Regions from separate parts of the Homo sapiens genome. Here region 1 is linked to region 2. The links are contacts of gene promoters, found by promoter capture Hi-C in blood cells and fetal thymus (Javierre and others, 2016). All regions are on one chromosome and are shown on one strand. Each heading gives the region's core, a stretch centred on a gene start or on the middle of the fragment in contact. The rest is flanking DNA. Distances are from core to core; before and after follow the strand shown. Region 1 holds the start of BTF3 (basic transcription factor 3). Region 2 holds the start of BDP1 (BDP1 general transcription factor IIIB subunit).

Region 1 (7,010 bases), core at 3,659-6,158, 2.0 Mb before region 2:
AAATCAAGTAAGTAGAAAACATTCCACAAAATCAAGTGTAACAATCATGGCACGCTACATCAATTACTGCAAACTTGAGCAAGGACAGTTGCTTAAAATCAGTTACAAATCTGTTATTTTTAAAGCTTGCATTTCCAAACTTAAAAATACTCATATCCATTCTGAGCCCTGAGATCAGAAATCAGCTGCTAAATGAGTAATTCCCTGGTAAAACCATTACTAGGAAACTCACATTGTTTGGGCAGAGCTTCGGCCAGTCTCCTTAAACTAGTCAGACTATCCGCACCAAGCTGGTTTAAGATGCTGGGTAGCATTTCTGTCAGCTGCTTTGTCTCAGCATGGCCTGTAATGGTGAAAGTGTTCGCTGCCAGAGATGCCTGAACTTTAGGGTTGTTAAAGTGGATCACTGTTCCTTGGTTTGTAAACATATTCACCTATTAAGAAAAGAAAAATTTAAATTAGCAATGCTGACCAGTCTCTTTAAAAACAAATGTTTTATTAAACTAAGTCTGGCTAACTAGTATTTCACTGTGAAGCACAGGTGAAATTTTGCCTGGAATGGAATATGTATTCTAATAGCATTCAGACTTAATGAGCTCCCTGATATTTATTAATTTATGGTAGAAACACATCTTAGGGACTTTGAAGTCCCTAAGTTAAAAAAAAAAAAAACAACCCATTTAATGCATTAACGTTAACTTTTCCCAGCCAAATCTTGTTTTTTAAAGTAACAAAATTTGATACTTGCCTCTTCAATACCAGAGATATTGTTTACCCCTAACTTCTTTAAGGAGAACTGAAGTTTTTTGTCATCTGCTGTGGCTGTTCTATGAACCACCTTCTTCTTTCTGCGAGCAGTTCCCTAAAGTCAGGGAGAAGAGGAAAGAAAACAGCACATTTATACCACAACAGATATTTTTCAAATGGGAATAGTTTCCAATTCATTTCTGACCTTTGGATCTGTATAAGAACATTACCATAATCATAAACTTATGCAGTGAGCAGGCAGGCTAAGGCGAAGATAGAAGCAAAAAATGGGAAAGGAAAAGAATGATCTTTTCAAAGTTCTACTTTTTACATTTGCTCTAAAAGTGATCAAAGAGGTAGCATGTGTCAATCTAAATTAAGCATTTGAAAGAATTCCACATCCAGAATTATTAACCTCTTCTGTTTTTTTTTTTTTTTTTTTTTGAGACAGGGTCTCACTGTGTCGTCCAGGCTGGAGTGGCGCAATCTCGGCTCACTGCAACCTCCGCCTCCCAGGTTCAAGTGATTCTCCTGCCTCAGCCTCCCGAGTAGCTGGGATTACAGGCACCACCATGCCTGGTTAATTTTTGTATTTTTAGCAGAGATGGGGTTTCACCATGTTGGCCAGGCTGGTCTCAAACTGCTGGCGTCAAGTGATCCGCCTGCCTCGGCCTCCCAAAGTGTTGGGACTACAAGTGTGAGCCACCGCGCCTGACCCCTTTTCTGTTTTTATATTAAATAAAAATCAACATCCAAATTAATATTTACAGGCAAGACAGTGTATGGAACAATCAAATGAATCTGTATATAGACTTCTATAGGACTCGATAGTAAAGTCTGAAGCCCTTACCTTAACTTACAAGAGCCCTACACAAACTGTCCTGCCCTTAATATGCCACTCCTGACTGCATCTGCTACCATCCCTCTTCTTTAGCCAATAAACCTTGGCTATTCTTTGAACAGGCCAAGCAGGCTATGACCCAAGGGCCTTTGCACATGCTGTTCCTCTCCTTCCGGAACATCTACATGGCTCTTTCCCTCACTGCAGATCTCTACTCTTATGTCACCTGATCAAAGTGGTCTTTCTCAACTACCCAAAGTAAAATAGCAACTTCCACACTCACTCATCAATTTCTTTCTATCCTGGTTTATTTCTCTTCATAACACTTATTACTATAAGAGATAAATACATTTTATCATCCATCTCCTCTCCCTAGAATGTAAGCTCCATAAGGACTTCTGTTTATTGCTATAAACCCAGTATCTACAACAGTATCTAGCTCACTGAAGGCACTCAAGGAAAGTCTATCACACCCAACCACCTCACCGTCCCCCAACCTCCATCCCTATTCCTATTCATCCTTTAAAATCTTATTCAAGTCATTACCTCCTGTTTGCCTTTCCTAAATTCTGCAATTACCCCCTTTCCCTATGCCAAATCATTCCCATCTCTAGATTTTGAAAATGCTTCTACTATTGTACTATGTATATTACACTGTGAAAGAAGATTTTTTTAAGAAAAGACAATTATCGCCACTGCTAGGCTTAAAGCCCACCTAGGGACTTTAAACTTCTTAAAATTTTATATTCTCAGGATCCAACATAGTAAAGGCTTAAATAAATCTTGTTATTTAACTGAAGAAAATATCTATGGCTACAAAAAAAAAAAAAAAGTACTGGTTACTAACCTCTCCAAACTATTAAGTACAAAAATCACTTTGAAATGGTCATGTATGTATCTGGTTTCCAAAGAAATCTTCTCTAAGAAACTCAAAGGAATTTCTAAGATTGTAAAGACAAACCCAGCATACTTTCTAGAGGTTTCATACACTTCACATATGTAGAGTTCAATTTTCACTTAAATAATTATTATTAATGCTGTGATTAGATATGAAAATAAAGGGCTTTTGTAACATTTACCTAAGAGCACCTAACACCTGCAGTTTTCTCTAAAGCAAAATTAACTCACCTAATTTCACATCCCATAATAAGTACGTTTCTTAAACAGTGTAGAAATGTTTCCATATTGTGACTACAGAAATACTTCTTGTATTATTAGCTAAACGAGTATTAAGATGTTAGGACACAAAATTTAATCTTGTTATCAGCTTTAAATATCCTAGCAAATCTCAAGATTTCCTTTACCCTAAAATGATGTCTCCCAAAGTTAAAGCCTAATGATGAGAGTAACAACAAAAAGACTGCACATAAGCACATTATTCAAATTACTCCTTCTGAAACTGTACTGAAAGTAAGAGTGGTTAAAAACACCAATATAAGAGCATCCAAACACTGAGACACAAAAAATTTGAGTTTTGCTGGCACTTGAAGGCCACAGTCTGATAACAATTGATTAAAGAGGACAAGAAACATCTAATGTTGTTAAATGTGTGGGTGTGGATCCTGAAGATGGCTAACGTTAACAAAAATAAAAAGTAAAAAAAAATCAGGATAAATTCACCGCTGGCAAAGTTCAGTAATTTAACAAAGCTGTATATTATTATTTAAGTCTAAGTGCAACTTCTGGCTATCTCACAGCTAACTCTAAGTTAAACGCTTAAAGTTGGGAAAAACTAAAAGGTAATAAACATGTACCATGGAAGCTTTACAAGTTTTACCAAGTAAAGACATGCTCTGTTTCAACAAGCTACCACACCTTGTTAAATACTAAGAATGTGCTAACAATACAAACTAGGTAGACCTCTGTCTACAGTGGACTTCTTATTAATTACAGGACAATCTAAAAATCAGCTTCAAAAAAGAATCCCCTTGATGTGAATCAGTATCCACCAGGAAAAAAACAATTAATCAAAAACTGATCATTTAAAAATCAGTCACTTTAATTCCCTCATTTTTACAGTAATACAAAGTCAGAACAGGAAAGATACCTACTTGGGTTATATTTTCAAATCTAATAGTCACTGCTCTTAAACTCCAAAATGTACCCGTATCTTCAAATACCCTTGAAATATGCAACTACCCTAAAGAATATTTAGTTCAGAAAGCAGTACAGAAAGGTCTCAATTTACAAGAGAGACAAACAAGCACTGACTTTAGAAAACTCAGGCCAAAACAAGTCAAGGGTATGATGTGCACAACGATCTAACTGAAATGACACATTTTCCTTACTAATTAAATTAGGAAACACTTTTGTGTTCTACTTACACTCTGTAACACTGAAAACACAAACATGTTTACACAAAGGCGATGTTTTTAGCTCGTCTCACTGATGTGTCTCCAACCCTCGTCTCCCCCGCTCCTCGAGATTTGCTAGCTCCGTGAATTTCCCTCGATAGGCAAAGTTTGTCACCGATAATATAAGAAGCGCAAAAGGAATATGTTTTTTAAAATACCTAAACCTTAAAAAAAAAACCCACAAACCCGAACTATTAAAACTTACTTTCCCACCAATGCGCACTTGTGCCTGCAGTTTGGCGAGTTTTTCCTGGTTCATGATTGTTTCTTTCATCTAGAAAAAGAGGAAATCCTCAGCAAGGATAGGTTTAGCTCACTCTAGCATTCCATGCTCGTTATTTCCCAAGATACCAGCAGGAAAATAAACGTCCTACACAGGCCGAAACCTGGATCCCAAATCCACCCCGCAAAGCTCCAAATTTGGGTTTCCAGGGAGCCCAAAGAGCACCCGCCTCCCCACCACTCCCCCACAGCTCCCCGCTCTTGGCAGGCCCGGATGAAAGGCTCTACCCCACGCCTGGCCAGCACCCCCCACCCCTGGCCCTGGCCTGGCCTCGGCCTAGCCAGGGCCTGCCCGGCCCGGCCACTCTCCGCAAGCCTCGCGGTACCTGAGGCTCCTGTCCTCGGGTTCCGCCGCGAGGTGGAGGTTGAGACAGCGTCGCCTCGCCCCCAGGGCAGCCGCCCCTGGCTCGACCTCGCCCCCGAGAGTCAGCCTGAGCGGGTGCGCCTGTCCGTCGCATCGCCTTCCTCTCCTCCTCTGCCCTGTCCCTCCCTGTCTCGCTCCTTCAGGGAACTTCCCGCCCCCGCTCCCGTCCTCCTACCACGCCGCCGTCCAGAGCCTTTTTGTACCTTGTCGGAGCGAATAAGGGGCCGCGCGGGGGACTAGGGTTGGTGCTCAAGGGGTCTCGGGTGGACCACCTGAGATTAGGCGCACACACGCGGGGACGCAAGATGGCAGCTAAAGGGAGGCCGGAAGTGACACAAGGCCACTTCCTTCAAGAGTCAGGAAACTGACTTCGCCGCGAACTCGGTTCCTCCCTGCGCACGCGCGACAGCGTTTGTGATGGTCCAGCGAGTCCCTATTCTCCTCCTCCTGCTCCAGCGGCTGCCGGCTGTAGGCCCTACGAGAGACTGCTGGCTTGGGGCGCAGCCCGTACCTCTGGGAGAGGCCACAAAGGGGTCGGAGAGCGCGGTCCTGTGCACAGTTAGGGTTAAGTCCGCTCAGTCTCCATTGGGCCCTGATCCTGAAGTTCTGTGCCCTCCGAAGAAAGGGCCTATTCACGTTTCCTGGAGACGCCGGAGGTGCCCAGCTTGTGCTCACCACTCAAGCAGCTCTCCCCTTGCTGGAGGTGTGGGTTGGAGAATTGCAGAATTTCCCTCTCGGCCCGAATGAGCCATTACCAAAGCATTTTGTCAAAAATAGTGAAGTTAGTTTGGCCTTCCAAGGTTAGGTGGTGTGGTAGATTGCGGGACCGAGGTTCAGAATTTCTGGGGGCTGTATCCCCGAGCCCCACTCCTCAGAATGCAACTCTGTACGACGAAGGAACTGGGTAATCCGCATTTCAGCCAATTTAGCAGATGACTAACCACCTTAAAACGGTCCACACAATTATCTTGTTTATCAGGCAAAAAAATTGACTCCTAGGTACCGAATTGGCATGGATTTGACAATTAGCGATTCACGGTTAAGCAGACTTTATCTATCTTAATCCAATCAAAGGAGAATTTCTGCCTGCTGTGTTTGGAGAGACAACGCGTGGATGTGAGTTAAACTTTGTTAAACCCAGGACAAGCTTTAAGATAAAACGACTGATATTTAAAATGGCAATTTAAATAAAAATGTTCTCTGATCAGCCTTTTTGTGGTCTTAACCATGAAATGTCTTTGCATATTCAAAAGTGAGTCCGAAATCTTAGAATGCAATGTGTGTAGCAAGAAAACTTGTTCAAGTGCAGACCCCTCTCCAGTTAAGATCAATGTTTAAACTTTTTGAATACTTTTTACATATAAGTTTGTTGCAACTGATGTCTCAAGAACATAACTGGTGAGGACAGCTGTATTGCCTTTTAGAATAATTGTTACAGTTATATTTACAAAAAACAATGTTGCTTCAGTTAAATATGAGTGAAGTTTTAGTACAGGTAAGGGTGTTTGTAGTTAGGCTTATGTGGGTTACCTTCCTAATGACAAAGGCCAAAATGGCAGTACCAACATTATGCTGTGCTCTGGAGATATTACAAAATATATAGAAAGACTCCCCCTTTTGGAAGAAATGTGTATCTTTGTCCAGGAACAGTTTTTTTCCTCTCCTCCATGTTATATTGGAGGCATTTGAAACTTCCTAGTCACGTGATGTTTTCTGAGCTTTTATAGAGACAAGATTGTATGTATGTAACCTGCCACCTTTTTTTTCTTTTTCTTTGCCTTCCCTCTCCTCTGCCCTTTTAATACACCTGTTTTCAGGAAATATTGTGAGCTACTTTTATTTATTTATTTATTTCTACTTTTTGAAACCAGGGATGCTGCTAATTTTATTTTTATAATTTTTTTAAAAAATATAAAACTTTAAAAAAATTAAAAGAGATGGGGTCTCACTTTGTTGCTTAGGCTGGGCTCAAACTCCTGCGCTCAAAGGATCCTTCAGTCTCAGCCACTTGAGAAGCTGAAACTACAGGTGTGCACCACTTTCCCTGGCTTATGACTTTTTAATTTTCCCCTCGTTCCTACTTTTTTCTCCTGTTCTTTCATGAATTTAAAAGTTTGCTGCGTGTTGAAAATATAAAAGATTACTTAATAGTAAAAAAGAAAATTTTGATTTTCTTTTTACGTTCTGTTTTGGTTTGGTTTTTGTGCTTTTCTATTTAGAGATGGAGGTCTTGCTATGTTGCCCAGGCTGGTCTCAAACTCCTGGGATCAAGCCATCCTCCCATCTGGGCCTCCCAAAGTGCTGGTAGTACAGGCATGAGCCACGATACCTGGCCAAAATTTTGATTTTTGACTCCAGCTGCTTCTGCTGGTTTTATGAGTAGTCAGGAAATTCTGATTCTTCTAATAAAATAATTATATAC
Region 2 (7,015 bases), core at 1,812-4,311:
AGATTCTGAAGGAACACTGACACTAGACTTAACCAGGCTAGAAGTACTTGATATTCGCTTTCTTCTCTGTGAAACAGTAGAGGAAGATCTACTGGATTCTTCAACATCATTGTCACCACCAGTCTTTTCAGTACTGTTGAAATTAAAAAAGAAAAAAGAGGGCACATGAATCTTCTGTTACACATGCTAGTTTTAAAACCTAGTCTGGTGAAAATCCAAAACTGCAATCTCGTAATTAAAAAAAAAAAATTAGTAACTTGAGATTTATGATAATTATGACAGGTTACAAAAAAATTTGTTTAGTAAATCTTTTAAATATACGTAAATTCTAATAGACTCTTAATCTTTTTCAAACATAAAGTCCCTAGGCACATTACAGCACATAATTATAGGCTTACCCCCCTCAAAACAAATAACCAACTTACAGAACAAAGCTTAGTCAACCTAATTTGAATTACTAAGTAACAAAGTAATAATTTATAATTAATTTCTATATAAAATTTAAAAAAATTTTAATTCACTCTGACATTTTAAACTGGTCTAAACTACCGGCATTTTACTTTACTTATCAACCCGAGGTCAGTCAAATCAAATATGCAAAACTCCAAACCTCTGAAATATCTGTATTGCAGTATTTGAAGAAAAACATTTAGTTACAGTAGCCAAACCCAATTCCCTTTGAGGCAGAAATCATTTATCTTTTGTCAGGTACAACTCTACTTATACAGCCATCAGAATAAACTTCAGTCAAAAAAAGTACTCAGTCACCCCAAATTGCATATTAGGTATGGTATACCTCAGATATAAGTATTTCAGGAATGGTCTATAAATGCAACTTAAGTCAAGAAAAGAGGTGGTATAAGTCAATAATTAAAAACAGTCTACTTTTTTCCTATTTTATAATTACTTATAAAAAATTAGAAAATGCCTTAACTTATAGAATAACCTTTCCAGGAAGACTTCAATTTAAATTCGTATCTTAGCTGTTATGGATACATGCATTATCTGCATTTCACCCAATTATGTTGAATGCATAATGACAGAATATATATCCTATAGAGTTTTACAACTAGCAAAGACCCACAAAAAAATAAAAAGAGGCTGGGCACGGTGGCTCACACCTGTAACCCCAGCACTTTGGGCTGAGGCAGGTGGATCACTTGAGGTCAGGAGTTCGAGTCCAGCCTGGCCAACATGGTGAAACCCTGTCTCTACTGAAAATACAAAAATTAGTTGGGCGTGGTGGGGCACGCCTGTAGTCCCAGATACTTGGGAGCCTGAGACAGGAGAATTGCAAGAACCCGGGAGGTGGAGGTTGCAGTGAGCCGTACCACTGCACTTCAGCCTGGGCGACAGAGCAAGACTCCATCTAAAAAAAAAACTAATTAAAAAAAAAAAAAAAAACCACTTTCCCAGAGTCAGTAATGGCAAAAAAAGTGACTAAAAAACAAATTATATTCCCCAAACGTAAATGTCAACTCAAAAAAAAAAATTAAATATCCTTGACCATAAATATCTCAAAACTACAATCTTTGGGCAATTTATTAAATTATCAACCATCACGCACTCACACATAATTAACGAAATCTCTGAGAACTTTATTAATGTAACAGCGACTAGTATCGGTATCTCCTTTCTGTGTAGAAATTTTGAAACAGATTCATGTAATAAACTTGGAAATTACTAACCATCACTGAACTATCAACGTAACACCATACACTCAGCACCAGTTCAGGCCAATAGAGGAAGATGTTCCAAAAATAAATAAATGTTTCACCTTCCTATCACAGCATAAACAGAATTTGTACTATCTCACTTCACTTAACAAGGCTGTTTACTGATTTCCTCATATATATAGAAACAGAGACCATCTTAGCCTAACATGTCTTAAATTTACTCCATCACCTTTCTAAAAAACTAGTAACTTTTTGCGGGCAACTATTCTGCTATATCCCCTGCAAGGTAGTTAATATGAATTATCTCCAATCTGCACCAAAACGCTCCAAGTAGGCAATATTATTCCCATTTTGCAGATGAGCAAATTCTGCCTGAGAAAAGTTTACCTGTAGACTAAAAGAGTCCTGAATCCAAATATGATACATGACGCTAAAGCCATGCTTCTCTATTCAGGAAACACGGTCACCATAGTTAAAGAGGCACACTTCAATTAAGTGACCAGAACTCTTACTCACTGACATAAATCGGTAAAGCCAAAGCAATACTTATCTTCTCCTTTAAAAAATAAATATTTTATAAATTGAAAGACAAAAACACTTCCCTGCAAAGCACTCCAGAAGGATGAAAACTATAGTGACCTAAATTCTCAAATGAATAGTGTGGATATTCTTCACTTCAGGACTGCCATACCCCGATTCTCCCTACCACCACTTGAAGACATGGTCTCCTCTCGGAGAATCTATAGACCGTGACAAAATCCACACAAGCCACACCCTGCAGGTCAGACAACTAAACTGCAGTTTGGAGTGGTTTCATCAAGCCTCAACTGAAAGGCTTACTGCAAACGAGAGCGGACTCCTGTGATAAAATTCATTTGCTCAGCTTCCAGGTGACATGCCCGGAGAGGCGGGACAAATGAAAATTCTTCCCTCTGCAACCTCTTACCTGCTCCTAGGAGCCTTTTCTTGGGGCTCCGCTCCACCGAAATCGACTGTGGGCACATCTGTGGGCTCCGCGGGCTTGGAAGCAGAGTCCGTGGCAGGATCCGGCGGCCTGGGAGACTCCCGTCCACGCTGGGGATTGGAAGCTGTGGAGCCCCTGGCGCCTACACCAGGCCTGACATTCGGCTTCACGCTAAGGCGTGCCCTGCGGAACATGGCGGAGGCAGGGGGCCCGGGGAGGCAGCCTCACGGCCGCTCACAGCCCCGAGCCCCGGCGGCTGCCCGGAAAGGGGATTAGGAACTACGCCCTCCCCACAAAGCCACACCACCAGCTCAGGGGGCAGCTACCGTAGTTTCACTGCCCCGCCGCCGCCTCCTCCTCTCTCCCGCCGCCGCCGCTTTTTCATGACCCTGCCACACACCGATGGCTAAATTTCACCCTCCTCCCAGCATCCCCGCGCTCACAGGACGCCGCAACTGATTGCGCCATCAGCCAGCGCCGCAGAATGACGTCAGACGCACAGCACTGGGAGCCATGGTAACTACCAAGCTACTGAGACTGGGTTACCTGCGGACCAGAAATTGAGATGCAGAGATATTTGCTCTTTCTTCTCCAGGAGTCCTTAGGAGTAGTTGAAAAGAGGAACAGAAGAAAGTCCACTTCTCTGCTCAAACCTTTACTGGAACTATTAAAATCGCTGGCCGATTTTGTCTTTTGAAGATCCTGAAGGGTTTAGAAATTCTAAATTGAGTAGACATAGATTAAAAATGCTGGTGTGAAGAAACTGATAATAGTTACCTCCCAGGAGAGGAATGTGTTTCTGGAAAACACGTCGTGGTAGGAAGACCATTTACCGTACGCCTTTGTGTACTTTTTTGTTTTTGTCCTTTGAGACAGGGTCTTGCTCTGTCGCCTAGGCTGGAGTGTGCAGTTGCGCGATCTTGGCTCACTGCAGCCTCCACCTCTCGGGCTCAGGCGATCCTCCCGTCACAGCCTCCCAAGTTGCTGGGACCACAGGCACGCGCCACGACACCCGGCTAATTTTTTTTTTCTCGTATATTTAGTAGAGACGGGGTTCATCATGTTGCTTAGGCTGATCTTGAACTCCTAGGCTCAAGCGAGCCACCCATTTGGCCTCCCAAAGTGCTGGGATTACAGACGTGAGCCACCACGCCCAACCTCCTTGTGTACTTTTTAATATGAATGTATCACCCGAGATCGTACCACTACACTCCAGCCTGTTTAAAAATTATTATAGTTGAAACCTTGTAAATTATTGTGAGTGTTCTTAATCTGCTTCAGGAGGTAGCAGTAAACAAGACGTTCTGGATTTGGGAGGAGAAAATACAAAAAAGAAATGAACAAGATATTTTTAAAATGTATCAGGCCCGGCGTGGGTGCCTCATGCCTGTAATCCCAGCATTTTAGGAGGCTAAGGCAAGGCAGATTGCTTGAGGTCAGGAGTTCGAGACCAGCCTGGCCAACATGGTTAAACTCCATCTCTACTAAAAATACAAAAATGAGCCAGGCCTGGTGGTGCAAGCCTGTAATCCCAGCTATGGGAGGCTGAGACAGGAGAATGGCTTGAACCCTGGAGGTGGAGGCTGCCGGGAGCCAAGATGGCACCACTGCACTCTAGCCTAGGCAACAGAATGAGTGAGACTCTGTCTTAAAATAAATGAATTAATTAATTAATTGCAATAAAATAAAGTATATCAAATGTCATGAAATAAATTTAAGGGTTGAATGCCGGGTATGGCGAGGCACGCCTATAATCCCAGCTACTGTGGAGACTGAAGTGGGAGGATCTCTTGAGCCCAAGACTTCCAGACCAACCTGCTCAAAATATTGAGACCCCTAAAACAAATTACCTACATGCGGTGGCTGTGATGGCTCCCACCTCTAGCTCCAGCTACCTGGAAGGCTGAGGCAGGAGGTCCAGGCTGCAGTGAGCTATGATAGTGCCACTGCCCTCCAGCATGGGTGACAAAGTGAAACCTTGTCCTTAAAACAAAAATTTAATAATAAGAAGAAAAAAAAGAGAGAAATGTACAGGATGATGTGATAGAAAGTAATGGGAGGGAGGCTGGCAGTAGAGTGGCTAGGGAAGTCCTCTATGATGAGAGGAAAAATAGCCAGAGCTGAGGTTGGCCTTGGAGGTATTGGGCCAATGTTTGAACCAGTGATACAAATCCCCTGACTCATGGGAACACAAAGGCCTGACTTTCTTCTTAGAAGGAAAAGAAAATCCTACAAGAATATGGTGATACATTAATAACAAAAGGTCAAAGGAATAAAATTCTGAACTGACTGAAGAAATTGATCACCTAAAGGGAGAACAAAAAAGAGGCAAGTGCTTTTGAGAGTAGGAAGGCAAGACTGAAAGCAGAGAAGAGAAAACATATATCTCTAAGACTATGAAGAAAATGAAGGTCTGGAGGCCAGGCACAGCTCGTGCCTGTAATCCCAGCACTTTGGGAGGTTGAGGCAGGCGAATCACTTGAGCCTAGGAGTTTAAGACCAGCCTAGCCAACATGGTGAAACCTCATCTCTACCAAAATTACAAAAATTAGCTGAGCATGGTGGCTTCTGCCTGTAATCCCAGCTACTCAGGAGGCTGAGGTTGGAGGATTGCTTGAGCCCAGGAGGCGGAAGTTGCAGTGAGCCAAGATCACACCACAGCACTACAGCCTGGGTGACAAAGTGAGACCCTGTCTCAAAAAAAAAAAAAAAAAGAGAGAGAGAAAGAAAGGAAGGAAGGAAGGAAGAGAAAAGAGGAGGTCTGTGGATTCCGTGGGCTCCCTGCAATACTCTGGAAAAGGAACAGTATCTCAGTTTTATCTTCTTTATTTAAAGAAGCTCAAGAATTCGAGAGAATACCCTGCTAAAGATGTCTCAGGAATCTTGGAGCCACTGCCAGGTCTACACAGCTTTGAACAGCATATTCTGATACCAACTGAAGACACAGGGCCTTTCCCCAGATGGTCTTCTGTTCCACTTAAGAGACTAGGGCATTGTCCCAAGTTTTTACAGGTCAGAAAGTAAATAGTGACTAAGATTTAATTTCCCACCAGTAAAGGGATGGGAACAGAATCAGATTAAATTTTATTATTAAATATAAAGTCATAAGACATTTGTTACACAAGTTTGTGGAGTAAATTCTTAGTGGCATCATACGAATTTTTTAAATCTCTACTTTTCTCTGAGAGACACACACAACACATTTTGTGTACATGGGGTATATCATGTGTAGCCCTACAACTTAAGAACTGCAAAATTTCAGCTGCAAAGAAAAATGTTCAATTAGATTAAATTGAGAGCACGTACAAAAACAACTCTGCTACTCACCGGCCGGGCGCGGTGGCTTGCGCCAGTAATCCCAGCACTTTGGGAGGCCGAGACAGGCGGATCATGAAGTCAGGAGATCGAGACCATCCTGGCTAACACGGTGAAACCTCATCTCTACGAAAAAAAATACAAAAAACTAGCTGGGCGTGGTGGCGGGTACCTGTAGTCCCAGCTACTTGGGAGGCTGAGGCAGGAGAATGGCGTGAACCCAGGAGGCAGAGCTTGCAGTGAGCTGAGATCGCACCACTGCACTCCAGCCTGGACGACATAGGGAGACTCCGTCTAAAAAACAAAACAAAACAAACAAAAAAACTCTACCACTTACCTTCCAATCCCACCCCATTCCCTCTTTAGATGACCTTATCTCTATAAAGAACTGTGCCAGAGGTTGGAATGGTTGAAATCTCATGCTTGAAATCCCAGCACTTTGGGAGGCCGAGGCAGACAGATCACACGAGGCCAGGAGTTCAAGATCAGCCAGGCCAACAAGGCAAAAAACCGTCTCTACGAAAAATACAAAAATTAGCCGGGGCAGGGTGGCAGCCGCCTGTAATCCCAGCTACTGGGAGACTGAGGCACAAGAATCGCTTGAACCTGGGAGGCTGAGGCTGCAGTGTGCGGAGATTGCGCCAGTGTACTCCAGTCTGGGCAACAGAGTTAGATACTGTCTCCAAAACAAAACACGGTGCCAGAAAGTCAATCTTTTCCCTTCAAGTTACTTCACTAAGTGGAAGCAGAGGCTAGCAGTATTAAGGAAGAGAGGTGGGGTGTGGGGATAGGATAGTGATGTGTGCGAGGCTCTCTGAATTTGAAAGAATAATGACAGTAAGAGCTAACATATTGAGTTCTACCATATGCTGGGGACCTAGTACTTCACATACGTTAATTCAGTTAATGAAGAAGGTACATACCTCCCCATTTTACAGGTAAGAACGCTTTAACATAATGAAATACTGTCCAAGTTGACACAGCTACTAATTAGTAGAGATGGACTTTCAACCCAGACAGTTCATCTCCAGAGCTCCTCAGTCTTCACTTTCTCCACCTT

What was found. Contacts are between HindIII fragments. The CHiCAGO score rates a contact against its expected background, and 5 or more counts as called.
Region 1: a contact is called between the fragment with the promoter of BTF3 here and the fragment with the promoter of BDP1 in region 2, in 4 of 17 cell types (total CD8 T cells, naive CD4 T cells, fetal thymus and 1 more). The highest score is 6.4, in total CD8 T cells.

What each region holds. Positions count from the first base shown.
Region 1 is chr5:73,496,340-73,503,349 of GRCh38, reverse strand. It overlaps BTF3 (basic transcription factor 3), which reads right to left and starts at 4,908. Exons shown (of 6, transcript NM_001037637.2): 1 at 4,551-4,908; 2 at 4,148-4,216; 3 at 749-862; 4 at 233-434. The coding sequence starts at 4,682. It overlaps BTF3-DT (BTF3 divergent transcript), which reads left to right and starts at 5,030. Exons shown (of 1, transcript NR_186388.1): 1 at 5,030-5,797. RefSeq lists a silencer at 4,424-4,473 and enhancers at 4,110-4,920, 4,684-4,983, 5,014-5,073. The HindIII fragment of the contact is 2,385 bases long and covers 3,353-5,737 here.
Region 2 is chr5:71,451,697-71,458,711 of GRCh38, reverse strand. BDP1 (BDP1 general transcription factor IIIB subunit) reads right to left here and starts at 3,061. Exons shown (of 39, transcript NM_018429.3): 1 at 2,623-3,061; 2 at 1-133. The coding sequence starts at 2,834. RefSeq lists enhancers at 2,274-3,199, 3,200-4,126. The HindIII fragment of the contact is 8,261 bases long and covers 437-7,015 here.